2 separate regions of the Homo sapiens genome follow, and region 1 is linked to region 2. The links are contacts of gene promoters, found by promoter capture Hi-C in human tissues and cell types (Jung and others, 2019). All regions are on one chromosome and are shown on one strand. The core of a region is centred on a gene start or on the middle of the fragment in contact, and the rest is flanking DNA. Distances in the headings are between cores, read along the strand shown. Region 1 holds the start of TNFAIP2 (TNF alpha induced protein 2). Region 2 holds the start of RCOR1 (REST corepressor 1).

What was found. Contacts are between HindIII fragments. The study calls those that stand out against the background at their distance.
Region 1: the fragment with the promoter of TNFAIP2 here is called in contact with the fragment with the promoter of RCOR1 in region 2 in 1 of the 25 tissues and cell types used here (lymphoblastoid cells).

What each region holds. Positions count from the first base shown.
Region 1 is chr14:103,120,731-103,126,616 of GRCh38, reverse strand. TNFAIP2 (TNF alpha induced protein 2) reads right to left here and starts at 3,156. Exons shown (of 12, transcript NM_006291.4): 1 at 2,666-3,156; 2 at 1-307. The coding sequence starts at 159. LINC00677 (long intergenic non-protein coding RNA 677) reads left to right here and starts at 3,708. Exons shown (of 2, transcript NR_138038.1): 1 at 3,708-4,008; 2 at 5,586-5,768. RefSeq lists silencers at 2,865-2,914, 3,215-3,494 and enhancers at 3,159-3,692, 3,693-4,225. The HindIII fragment of the contact is 20,075 bases long and covers 1-5,886 here.
Region 2 is chr14:102,587,171-102,593,898 of GRCh38, reverse strand. It overlaps RCOR1 (REST corepressor 1), which reads right to left and starts at 1,250. Exons shown (of 12, transcript NM_015156.4): 1 at 712-1,250; 2 at 574-633. The coding sequence starts at 1,012. RefSeq lists silencers at 274-883, 944-2,253 and enhancers at 1,832-2,647, 2,929-2,978. The HindIII fragment of the contact is 11,930 bases long and covers 1-6,728 here.

The sequences.
Region 1 (5,886 bases), core at 1,907-4,406, 530 kb before region 2:
CTTCTTCTTCCCTTTGGTGAAGACGCAGAACACATTGGCCAGGCCTTTGGACTTCTTCTTCTTCTCCTTCTTCTTCTTCGCCGCCTCTTCCTCCTCCCTATATGGGGCTGCCCCAGCCTCCAGGGGTGGCACCAGGTCCTCAGAGGAGGCCTCCGACATGGAGGCCTCTGACTCTGCCTCTGATGTGGACTGCAACTTTTGGGGGCCTCTAGGCAAGTCGAGGGTGCCTGGCACAGGCTGATGGCTCTAGAGGCCTTGGAAGAAGGTCATCATCTTCAGCATCACCCTGGTTCAGGCCTGCAGGCTCCTGCGGGGTGGGGGTGAAGGCATCAGTGGTCACCATGGACCGGCCCTGGCTCCCAGGCTGGACACACAGCTATGCTGGCTGCATTGAGTACACTCAGTCTGTTTCACCCATTCAGCCACCGGGGCTCTGCTCATCTCCTGGCCCAGATGAGCACCAACAACTGTGCTTCCTCCCTGGCCACGAGCATCTCACCATCTACAGCTCCCCTTCCAATACTTCACAGCCCCAGAAGCAAGGAAGAGGCTGGGGACGCCAAGCCCGCCACACAGAGGGGGACTTTCACTTTACTTGGGCAAATCCTTCCCTGCCAGCCCACCCTCTGGGCAGGAAGCAGGCAATGGACACCTCCCTGGATCCCACGGGACCCTAGGGAAGAGGCGGGGCATGGGCTCTGTCCCTTTGGACAGAGCAGGAACAGAGGTCCAGAAAGGTCTGGGACATGCCGGGGTCTAGAACACCAGAACCGGCCTGAGACTGGAACCCAGCCTCCTCCTGCCCAGACCCAGCCCCTCTGCCATCTTGTCCAGTTCTGATCCAGCGGTGGGGTCACAGAAACACAGCTGCTCCAGCTGGGCCATGAAAGGGGCAGAGCCTGACCAGGATCTACAGAAGCCACAGTGGGTGGGACCTCAGACAGCCTTTCACACATCACTGGGGCAAGGGGCTCAGCAAGTCACAGGGCGGCCTGAAGTCACACAGCAACTCGGGTCCAGAACCCAGGCTTCCTGGCTCCCACCCCCTCCCAAATGGGATCGTAGCATCATCACAAAGGCTTCCAGTTTCTGCAGCCTTCCTGGGTGCCCATCCCATCTCTTCCTTTCTCTCATCTGGAAGGGTGTTATTTCGGCTTAAACTGTCCCTATAGTCAATAGCTTGGGCTTGGAACTCAGGCCACCCGGTCCCAGAGCCCAGCTTTCCCCTGCCTCCACATCCCCAGCTATCCTGCAAGCTACATCCAGAGAGGCAAGACCCGAGCTTCCCCAGAGTCCCTGCCCAGCACCTGACCATTGTCAGAGCAAGGCCAGGTCCACTGGAGAAGAGCATGGCTGATCTGAAAGGGGGAAGCAGGCAGGGGCTGGGCCTCCCCAAGAACTGGGGTGACCTGTAACCTTGATGCCACCTGTCTGCCCCACCCCAAGACTAAATGCATGCAGCCTTGTCTCATGTATCATGGTAACTTCAAGTGACCCCTGAAACAGCCCTGCAAGGCAGGCAGGATGATCCACCATCCAGAAGGAGAAACTGAGGCTGAGTAGGAGGTGTTTGCCCCAAGCACAGCAGCCATGGAGGCTCAGACTGGGCCCATCCGACTCTTCCCATGGCCCCGCTGCCTCCACCAGCCCCACTACCCTGTCCCCATCCTGGAGGGGCTTGGCCAGAGCCACCTGAGGGACAGGAAGCCTGGGCTCCTCCCACCCCCAGCCCCTGCCATGCTCACCCAGTGCCCTGGGCAGAGTCCCACACTCCTGGATGGCACTGGCCTCCCTAGTGCCATTTGGGTTGAGCATTCCACTCCAGGACCAAGAGGGGCATGCTCCAGGGAGCCCCAGGGGCAAGGCCATGGGGCACCTCTGCTCCCCACCCGGTGCCCCAACTTCGCTTCCCAGCCCCTCTCAGGTGCATGCCTAGCACCCGCGGGAGCTGGTCTGTCTGGCAGGGCCACTCAGCCCCACCCTGGGTGCCCAGGCCCCACCTCTGCCATTCTCCTGGGGTGGGGGAGGGTGGCCCTTACCAGCAATGCTCCCTGCCAGCCTCACCTCAGCCTTCCCTGTCCCACCCCACATGTACTAGGCTCTGTCCCACCTCCAGGCACAGCTCCCGCAGGACCCCCACAGCATCACCGCCTTCTCCCCTCTGTGACACGAAACCCAGAGCGCCTGAAGGTCCTGCTGCAGCCCCCTGGGCCTCGCCCCAGGTCTCCGCTCTCCGAGGCAGCTGGTGCCATGGAAAGAGAAACGCTTTCGGTGTGGGCTCAGCACACTTCTCACTAGTGTGTGGACTGCACACCTCCTTCCTTCACAAGCCGCCGTTTCCCCGTCTTTGAAAAGGGGATGAGGACCCCCACCCCACAGTGCTGCTGAGGGGATGTGGCCAAACCGCACAGCCAAGTGCTGGGCGCCTAGCTGGGCCTCAGTGGGGGTGAGTCTCCTGTGTCCTGAGTCTGTCCTGCAGGCAGCAGCGAGCCGGTGCAGCCAGAAAGGAAGAAGGGGAGGAGGGGCGTTCCTTTGAGCCTTGCCGCTGGTTGGGCCCACTGAGGCAGGAAGGGGCCTGCTGGGAGGCTCGTAGAGGGGTCACAGCCAGTGGCTCAACAGCGCCCCCCAGCCTCCTGCTGCCCGGCCTCTCCTCAGGTCCACTGACCTGGCTCGCCTTCCCCGTCAGGGCTGATGTCCACACACCTCCCGGGAGCTCGCTGGGCCCGGCTCCTTCAGTCCTGGGCAGGATGTGGAAGGCGCACCCATCCCCCGATGAGGACACCCGGGCACGGGCGAGGAAGTGACTCGGCCTGTGTCGCCCGGCCGGGGAGTCACGCCGGACCTGGGGCCTTTCTGCTGTAATGGAGGGGAGACCCCTGCGCCTGCCCCAGCCCCGCCCTCCCTGCCTCTGGCAGGCCCGGGCCCTCAGCCAGCCTTGGCCCCTCTGCGCCCGGACGCGCGGACGCTGGGCGCGCCAGGGCCTCAGTTTCCCTGGAAGCGTCCAGCCCCCTCCTGTCCCCGCCGCGGCGACAGGCTCTTTCCTCGGGGAATCCGGCCTGGCCTCGGGGTAGGGGCGGGCGAGAAGCCGCGCGGAGCGGCGGGGAATGGACGTGTGGAAGCGGAGGTCACTTACCGTGTCCCGGCCTGGCCGCCACTGTCCTGGCCCGGGTTCCGCAAGGCCTGAAATAGTCGCAGAGTCAGCCCCGCCCCGCCCGCCCCTCCTTCCCCGCCCCGCCGCAACCGCGGAAAACCCGCGGGCGGAGGCCAAGGCCCAGCGCGGCCCGGCTGTGTCCCTGCGTCCCAGGGGCTGGGCGCGCCCGGCCTGCCCAGCGGGGGATGCGGGGCGCTGTCACTTCCTCCCAGCAGCCGGGCAGGGGCGGGGGGCTGGCCGCGCGTCGCATGGTATGTGGAGTTCGGGGGACGGCACGGGGACGACGGGGTTGTCAGGCGCGGAGCCATTGTCCGACGACGGCTCCTGATAGGCCGCCTGGATGGGGCGCGCTTGGCCGCGTTCCCGCGTCACACACCGGCTCCAGCTGCGGGAGAGCCCGTCCCACCCCAACTCCCCAGCCGCCCCTCTGAAGTGTTCCGGTGTCACCGTGGCCACAAGGAGGCAGGGGACGGGGGCTTCCTGAAGGAGGCCCCCTAAGGGGAAGGGGGCTACAAGGCTGGCCAGAGTGCTGGCCGCGCGGCTGTGCACAGGGCCTTGAGCCCCTCCGGTCGTCAAGCCTTGCTTGAAATGCGTAAATGCGGAAAGGTGAAGTGGCTGACCCGGCTCACACCACTTTAAGTAGCGGAGTGGGGTTCCTAGCCAGGCCTATGGGACTCCCACTGGAGCCTTTCCCCCTCTGGGGCTGGGGCTGGACCCACAGGCTGCCGGAGCAGGCAGAAGGGGAGGGGCCCAAGGCCCAGACTCCAGGGCCTCGTCTGGATCATCAACCCGGCTTTGCCCATTCAGCGCAGGCCTCCGTTTCCAGGCCTGTCTCCCCATCCACACCGTCTCTCAGGGTTTGTTTTGGGAGATGTGGGGGTGGGGCATGTGGGGAGGATGGAAAGGGGCTGTGAAGGGAACCCACTGGAGATTCACTTCCTTCCTTATTTCACACTCTAGGCTAGGAATTCCTGCCCTCTGGAAAGGACCCAGACATTTAGGAATTTCCCGCTGGGCAGGGGCTTCCCTCCTGCCTCACTGGGGCCTCTGCTCCTCCCCTCTTTTGTTTGGCCTCTTTCCCCGCCCCCTGATCACTCCGCCACCCCTTCTGCAGCCTAGTAACAGGTCTTCCAGGACCAGGGGGGCCAGCGGAGTGGGGGCGGCTGTGGGTTCAGGTGCCCTGGGAACTGAGAACTTCCTCTTCCAGAGTGCTGGCCAAGCGCCAGGTTTGCACTCGGATTGCCATCCATCATCCTGTCTCTGGGGAACCTGTGGGGGAGCGGATGCGGGAGGCCGCCAGGATGCAGGATGGGGCGTTAAGGCTGCCAACCCCACCCCTTCTCTCCTAGGACTCCAGGGATGACATTTTTCAGATGAGTCCACAGAGCCGCGGTGTCCCGGGGCTGGGAGGGTCCTTCCACCGGCACCGCGCAGATGGAGTTCATCCACACAGGGGCGATGAGGATACGGGCTGAGGGGCCCTGGCCGGTGGCTGCCTTCACGGCTGGCTGCTGTGGCCTCATTGTGCAATCCCCACAAGCCTCTCCTGCCAGACTCTGTTCCCCCACCCCACCCCCTCACCCCCCCTCCCATTCCCAAGCAGATCGGGAAATTGCTCGGGAAGTCTGCATCTGCCAGGAGGGCGTTGTCAGGCCTTAGGCCCCACTGTCCCCTCGAAGGCAGCCCCTGGTCTCCACGGGCTTTGCAGGGCTGAGGCGGGGCTGCCACCCTTGTCCCCCACTGACGGCAGTGGCCCGCCCAGAGCACCGGCTGGGGATTGGGAAACGAGGCTGCTGCCTTGGACTTGTGTCTGCACCAGTCACTTCCCCTCTCTAAGCTCAGGCATGAGGGTCAATGGTAACATACGTGAAGTCCTCAAGACAAGGAAAGTCTTCTGAAAATGGGGCAGCATGGAGGCCCAAGGGATGACAGCCAATGGGGCCCATAGGGCAGGAGCAGTCCTTACCCTCTTCTCGCAGATGCAGAAAGCAGTTCCCAAGAGGCCAGGCACTTCCAGAGGAGCCAAAGGCCAGCCTACGGCTCCTCCCCAGCAGGAAGCCAGCATCACATGCTGGGTGGCGATGTTTGTGACCAGTGGCCAGCGGCTGTCCCATTCCCCAGCTCCCCAGGGCACAGGCCAGGGGCAGTGAGCAGGGGGCTCTGCCTGGTGGGGAGGGCAGCAGACAGGAGCAGACTGGCAATGACCTCTCCATTTAGCCTAGAAGGCGAGTGTGCCAGCACCTGGCCAGGAGCCACGGTCAGCTCCTCGCACGCAACCCAGGGCCTCAGAGGCTACGACACATGGGATGTTCCCTCCCTTCTGTCTGCCAGAGCAATGACAGCTGACTGTTTAAAAATTATTATGGTACAATATACATAATGCAATTTATAATCTTTTAAGTGCACAGTTCAGTGGCATTAAGTATATTCACAGGGTCGTGCAACCAACAGCACCCTCCACCTGCAGAAATCGTCACCTGGCAAAACGGAAACTCTACCCACTATGCACTAACTCCTCTTTCCCTCTCCTCCGGGCCCTGGCAACCGCCATTCTACCTTTCGTCTCTGTGGTCTTGACTATTCTATGTACTGCAAATAAATAGAGTCACACAGCGTTTATCCTTTTGTGTCTGCATCTGCCAGGAGGGCGTTGTCAGGTTTATTTCACTCAGCATAATGCCTTCAAGATTCATTCATGTGGTAGCAGGTATCAGAATTCCCTTCCTTTTTGAGGC
Region 2 (6,728 bases), core at 1-2,500:
AGGCAGGCGCCCTCTGGAAAACACACTTCTTTTATTGACTGGTTTTGGGGGGTCGTTCTTCTACTCGCCTTCTGGATGGGAGGGCAGTCAGGAGCCAGCAAGAGCCCAGAGGCTGAGAGGAGGAGCAAAGGCGTGGGGAGCAGCCTTTGGGAAGGGTTCCGAGAAAGGGGTCTCTGGGGACCTCCTAAGTCCGGGGCGCTCGCAGGACACTAACTCTCCGGCACTGCCACCCTTACCCCTGGCCGAGGCGCAGCTCACCTGGACGCAGGGACCCCCAGCGCCCCCAGGCCAGGTGTGGCCACCTCCGACGCCACCCGCAGTCCTCGGAGGCGCAAGGGGGCAGCGGCGCCGGCCCTGCTGGGGGCGACCTGGCCTCCCCCGGGTGCAGAGGCACGTTTGCAGAACACTCGTGTGCGTGTGCGCCTCCTCGTCCTCGCCCTGCTGTTCTCCCCACGGACGGCAGGGCGAACGCACAAAAAGAAAGTTGTCGGCGGGCTCCCGCCCCCTCGGGCTCGCCGGGGACCCGGGGCTCCCGCTCATCCCCGCCGCCGGCCGGCCGGGGCCGCTACTCACCGGGGTCGAAGTCGGGCACCACCGCCTGGTACTGGGGTCCGACCCTCATGCCACCGCCACCTGCGGGGGAAGCAGAATACGGCGGTCAGCGCGGCGCGGGGCGCGGGGCCCGGGGCCGCGGGGGCGGCTGCCACCTACCGTGCTCCTCGTCGCTGGACGAGCCCGAGCTGCCTTCCTCCCAGGAGTTGCTGCTGCTGTTGCCATTGGGCGCCGCCGCCGCCAAACTTTTATTCTGGCCATTATTGGGGGCGGCGGCGGCTGAGGCGGCGGCGGCCGAGGCTGAGGAGGCGGCGGCGCCCGAGGCGGCAGTGGCGGCTGGCGAGGCGCAGGCGGCCGAGGCGGCGGCGGAGGCGGCGGCGGCGGAGGCGGAGGCGGCCGCGTTGTTCCTCCCTCTCCGCTTCCCTGAGACCTCGGGGCCCTTCTCCACCATGGCCGGCATCGGCGGGGGCCGGGGCCGTGCGAAAGTGGCGGGGACCCGCGGCTCCTGAGGAGGGGGCGCCGAGACGGGGGAGGGGGCGCGGGGCCGGCGCGGGGCCGGGCGGGCGCGGCGGGAGCCCACGGGCGCGAGTCCGAGTCGGGGGAGGCCCAAACGGGCAGAGCGCGGAGCCGCTTCAAGCCCCCAGCGACGAGCCGAGCGCAACTTTCGCTCTCATCGCCGCCCTCACTTCACTGGCACCAACTACTCCGGGAGCAGCGAGCGGAGAGGGGAGGAGGCAGGGGCGGGGCCTGCAGGGGCGCCGGGGGAGGGGGGCGCGCAGCCCAACTGACGCGAGATGGCTCCGCCCCCCCTCGCGCTCCCATTGGCTCTGGTGGGATTTGGACAGCCAGCGGCAGCGGGGTTGGCTCCGCGCGCCCGTCCGTCCGGGGCGGCGGGGCGGGGGAGCGGGGAGGGGCGGCTCCGGGCTTCCGTTGGCGAGGTTCGGTTGACGCGTATCGCCCGCCGTACGTGGTTTGAGGTTTGCCATCTCCCTACGCCCCATGATCCATCTCTCCAGGCAGCGGCGAGGAGTTCGCGGCCCTCCCCGCCCCCTACCCTTGGCCGCGGCCCCTGCCCTTGCTGCCCGCGCACGCCTCCCGCAGCCTCTGGCCCCCCATCTGAAGGACCCCGCTGAGAGTCCCGTCGACTTCTCAAAGTAAAATGTGTCTGGCGCTGGGAAGCCGCGGAGCGCCCGGCCGGGACTACTTTCCGCTGCGCGGAGGAGTACGGGCGCGCTAAGACTCCATACAAAGAGGAAACTAATTGGGGGAAACTCGCTGCGCCCCCGCCTTTCCCAGGGGACGCGGGGCTGGCGGGGGCGGGGGCCGCGGCGCGGGGGACGGGCTTCCCAGGCGGCCGCCTCCCCTGGCGCGAGCTGCGTGGGGACTCGGGTCTGCGGTGCTGCCCGCTAATTGGGTGGGGGAGGCCGGGGCCCCCGGGGTGGCTTGGGTGCGGGGTGCGCCGCGGCTTCAGAGGCCCAAGGGAGGGTCCCCGTGGGTCCCCGGGGCACAGAGTCCCGGCGTGGGGACGCCCAAGCCGCCTGGGTGGCCGCTGAAAGATGAATGAAGGGGCCCAGTCGTCCTGGGGCGGGGGTCCAGGAAGGGTAAAGAGGAAGAAGCTATTTTCATCCCAAGCTCTCGGCACGGGAGGAGGGTCAACTTCTTTCGGGGCGAGGGCAGCCACTTTTCCGGACCTGCCGCCCGCCCCGCCTCCCTACTCCCCCCGGCACCCCCACGAGGGAGAACACGGGGTGCGGGCGGGTGGGGTAGGCTGAGGCTAGCCTGAGAGCCGCTGCCTTGGAGAGGGACCACCGGGCAGCCGTACAGCTGTTAGGAGGCTGAGGAGTGTAACTGCCTTGGAGGTCCCGGTGCCCTACCCCCAGCCAACCCTGAAACTACGCGCCCTTCGTAATTAGACCAGTGGAGGTCTATACGGAAAATCTTTTTAAAGCAGGGAAGGCTATTTTTCTTTTAAGTTACTTCAAACCTGAGCTTAATTTGGGGACTAGCTCTGGATATAAATAGCTACAGGGAGAATTTGGGAGTTTTATGGTTTTAAAGCCTGAGTAAATAAGCAGGGTTTTGTCTTGAACATTTTCTGCAGCATGAACCATTATTAACTTTATTGAAGAGACCACGTTCACTTCTGCCTAAATGGCCTTTAAGAAACAGGGCTGGGAGCCCTCCTGGTATAGAAGCCCTTCCCCCACCAAGTTCAGGTGGGGGACTTAGACTTTTAGACTCTCCTCAAAAGTACGTCCCTCTCCTTGGAGTGCCCTGGATGCTGCAGGTGTGTGCCCCAATACACCCTGTCAGCTGGCCTGGGCAGGGTACAGAACCGGGGTGGCATTCCCGGGGCTGGGCCACCGGCTAAGGCCTCTGACTCATCCGGAGGTGAGCCCTGTGTGAGGAATGAGGTCCAGAACACGCTGCCCCGCTCGCTTGGTGTCTACAAAGTTCTGCCACGAGACTAGAAGGATCAACCTACAAGGGCACAAAGGTGATACTGGGTCATTAAGGCAATAGGGATAGCAGAGCACACAAGGCCGCCCTCTCCACCCACCAGCCCCCAAGGCTGAGGCCAGGCTGGGCTACCAGTAGGGGCGCAGCAGTGGACTTGACAAGCATTCTTTTTTTTTTTTTTCCAACGAATATTAACACTTAATATGTGCCGGGCCCTGTTCTATTTTGTCTGACCCTAATGCTACACCGATACTGTATTGGCCTGAAGCTCTCAGATTTACCAACCGTAAAATACAGGAAACAGTACCTACCTCCTGGCCTGATGGACTGTAATAGAGTCCATCCTTCCAGCATAGGGAACCCCAACGTTAAGGACACTCGCCTTCCCATCGCTTGGGGAGAGGGCTCCACACACAGCCCTGGGATTGGGAATTTGTGATCCCACACTTCTAACGCATCCACAAAGCCGGCAGCCCTATCATGTTTTTCGGTGAGACTCCCACTCTGAAAGTGAGACCTCATGCCTGCTCCCCTCTCCTTACACCTCCCACAGCCCCTTCTGCCTGGGCTCCTAGCCCGTGGCCTTACCTCATTCTTCAGAGAAAAACGAAAGCCTTCAGGATCTTTCTCCTCTCCCAGTACCCAAACAGACAAACTTCCCTGTCGGGTACTCACGTCCTCCTCAGGCCTAGGACCCCATCCCGCTGCCCTCCCCTCGAGGCTTTTCTGTGCCATCAGCCTCACTCTGGACCGACTCCTGCCCCCAAACCCTCTCCTGCCTCTGGCCATTTCTCCCTCCCTTCAGACATTTCTGTAGACTTCCCTACACTCACCTCCTCCACCCCTTCCCGTCCCAGCCTCTCATCACCCCATCCAGCAGGGCTGTGTCCCCACCCCTTAACTGCTGCTAAGGTAACCTACAACCTCTCCGCTGCCCAATCCGGGGGTCACTTCTTGGTCTCGCTGAGCTTCTCAGCAGCAGCTGAGTCGACCACTCCTCCTCCTGGAAACCCTCACTTATCTGGACCTGGGGATTCCAGTTCACCTGGTCCTGCTACCTCACAGGTCACTCCCCATCAGTCTCCTCTGCAGCTTTCAACCTGTCATCGTTGGGATTCCTCCTTGCCTTTTTCCTTTCATTAATTTTTTTTTTATCCAGAGTCTCACTCTGTCGCCCAGGCTGGAGTCCAGTGGCACGATCTGGGCTCACTGCAACCTCTGCCTCAGCCTCCCGAGTAGCTAAGATTACAGGCACCCGCCACTACACCCGGCTAATTTTTGTATTTTTAGTAGAGACGGGGTTTCACCATATTGGCCAGGCTGGTCTTGAACTCCTGGCCTCGTGATCCGCCCGCCTCGGACTTCCAAAGTGCTGGGATTACAGGCTTGAGCCATGGCGCCCGGTGACATAGCGAGATCCCGTCTGTATAAAACAAAAACAAAAAAAAAAACTGTGACCCTATGACCATCTCGTCCCCCCACCCTAAAAAAAAACAAAAACTATGACCATGACCATCTCATACCCCACCCTTATAGATGAGAAAGCTGAGGCACCCAGAAGTGAAATATCTTCCTAGGATCAGGCATGATATGAGGGGAGGAGCCGGGGCACAGCTAAGCCAGGAGCTATGGAGCCTCTTAACCAAGGCCAGAGTTGCCCCAGGGATTCTGGGACGGCCAGGGGCAAGGGTGTCTGCAACATGCTTGGTCTGATGCTAAACATACAGTGTTTATAATTTTGTATTCATTGTATTTTCCCAGAAAAAGGGAAGGGAAAAGAGTCAGCATGTGTTATAAAATGATTAGAAAATGGGAAAGGAAGTACCTGGTACAGCAAAATCAACCATCAAATGAACATACCCCAGTGATGGAGTCATCAAAGCCCAAAGGGGCTCCGTCTCCTTCAGTTCAGGAATGAAGGGAAGGGATCAGGAAAAGGAGAGACGGGTACAGGCTTTCCTACCCCAGTGTTTATAGTTCTTCCTGCTGCTAATTATTATTATTACTATATTTGGGCTTGTTAGAAAATTCTGTTTGGCAAGGAATTCCTTTCCCAAGAATGGAGCCAGGCAGAGGGCAGGGTATGGGCCAGGGCTGGGAAGTGTCAGGAAAACACCCTAAAGCCATTCCTGGGAGGTTTCAAGCCCCCAAAGGACTATTGGAAAACTGAGACTTCAGGCTGGAATTTTAGCCATCCTAAGAGTTCTGAACCTGGAATCCATGGATAGAATTCTGGAGACCATGAACCAGAGCTGGTAAATACATCTTTATTTAAATTAACCTTTAACACCAAGTGCGGTGGCACTCACTTATAATCCCAGGTACTTTGAGGCCTCCAGCAAGACCCCTGTCTCAAAAAAAAAATCAACCTTTAACCAAAATCCAGCATTTTCTTCACTTATGAATGTAGGTGATATTCCATCTCAACACATTGCAGTCACTGGAAATATCTCAAAATAGCATTTATTTATTTATTTTATTTTTATTTTATTTTTTGAGACAGAGTCTTGTTCTGTCGCCCAGGCTGGAGTGCAGTGGCATGATCTCAGCTCAGTGCAACCTCCCGGGTTCCAACTATTTTCCTCCCTCAGGCTCTGAGTAGCTGGGATCACAGGCACCCACCACCACGCCCAGCTAATTTTTGTGTTTTTAGTAGAGATGGGGTTTCACCATGTTGGCCAGACTGGTGTCGAACTCCTGACGTCGTGATCCGCCCACCTTGGCCTCCCAAAGTGCTGGGATTACAGGCATGAGCCACCGCGCCCAGCCTCAAAATAGCACGTATACTCGTCTCCAAAATCACAGAAGTTATTAGACCCACTGCTAGAACTTGTTACTTAATATGTTAATAACTAAGCAAGTAAATCGTAGACCTAATTGTAAGACCTAATTGTAAAACTATAAAACTGTCAGATGAAAACCTAAATCTCTGTGACCATGAGGTAGGCAAAGTCTTCTTGATTACGATGCCAAAAGGATAAGGAACAAAAGAGAAAAATTGGAATTCATAAAAATTAAAACTTGTGTGGGTGAGCATGGTGGCTTACGCCTGTAATCCCAGCACTTTGGGAGGCTGAAGCGGATGGATCACCTGAGGTCGGGAGTTCGAGACCAGCCTAACCAACATGGAGAAACCGCGTCTCTCCTACAGATAAAAATTTTGCTGCAGATGGTGGCAGGCTCCTGTAATCCCAGCTACTCGGGAGGCTGAGGCAGGAGAATCACATGAATACAGGAGGCGGAGGTTGCAGTGAGCAGAGATTGCGCCATTGCACTCCAGCCTGGGCAACGAGCAAAAACTCCGTCTCAAAAAAACAAACAAAAAAAAGATTAGCTGTGGCTGGATGCGGTGGCTTACGCCTGTAATCCCAGCACTTTGGGAGGCCAAAGCGGGCAGATCACGAGGTCAGAAGATCAAGGCCATCCTGGCCAACATGGTGAACCCCATCTCTACTAACAATACAAAAATTAGCTGGGTATGGTGGTGCATTCCTGTAATCCCAGCTATGGGGTGGCTGAGGCAGGATAATCTCTTGAACCAGGTAGTCGGAAGTTGCAGTGAGCGGAGATCACGCCACAGCACTCTAGCCTGGCAACAGAGTGAGACTCCGTCTCAAAAAAAAAAAAAAAAAAAAAGATTAGCCAGGCGCGGTGGTGGGTGCCTGTAATCTCAGCTACCTGGAGGCTGAGGCAGGAGCATCACTTGAACCTGGGAG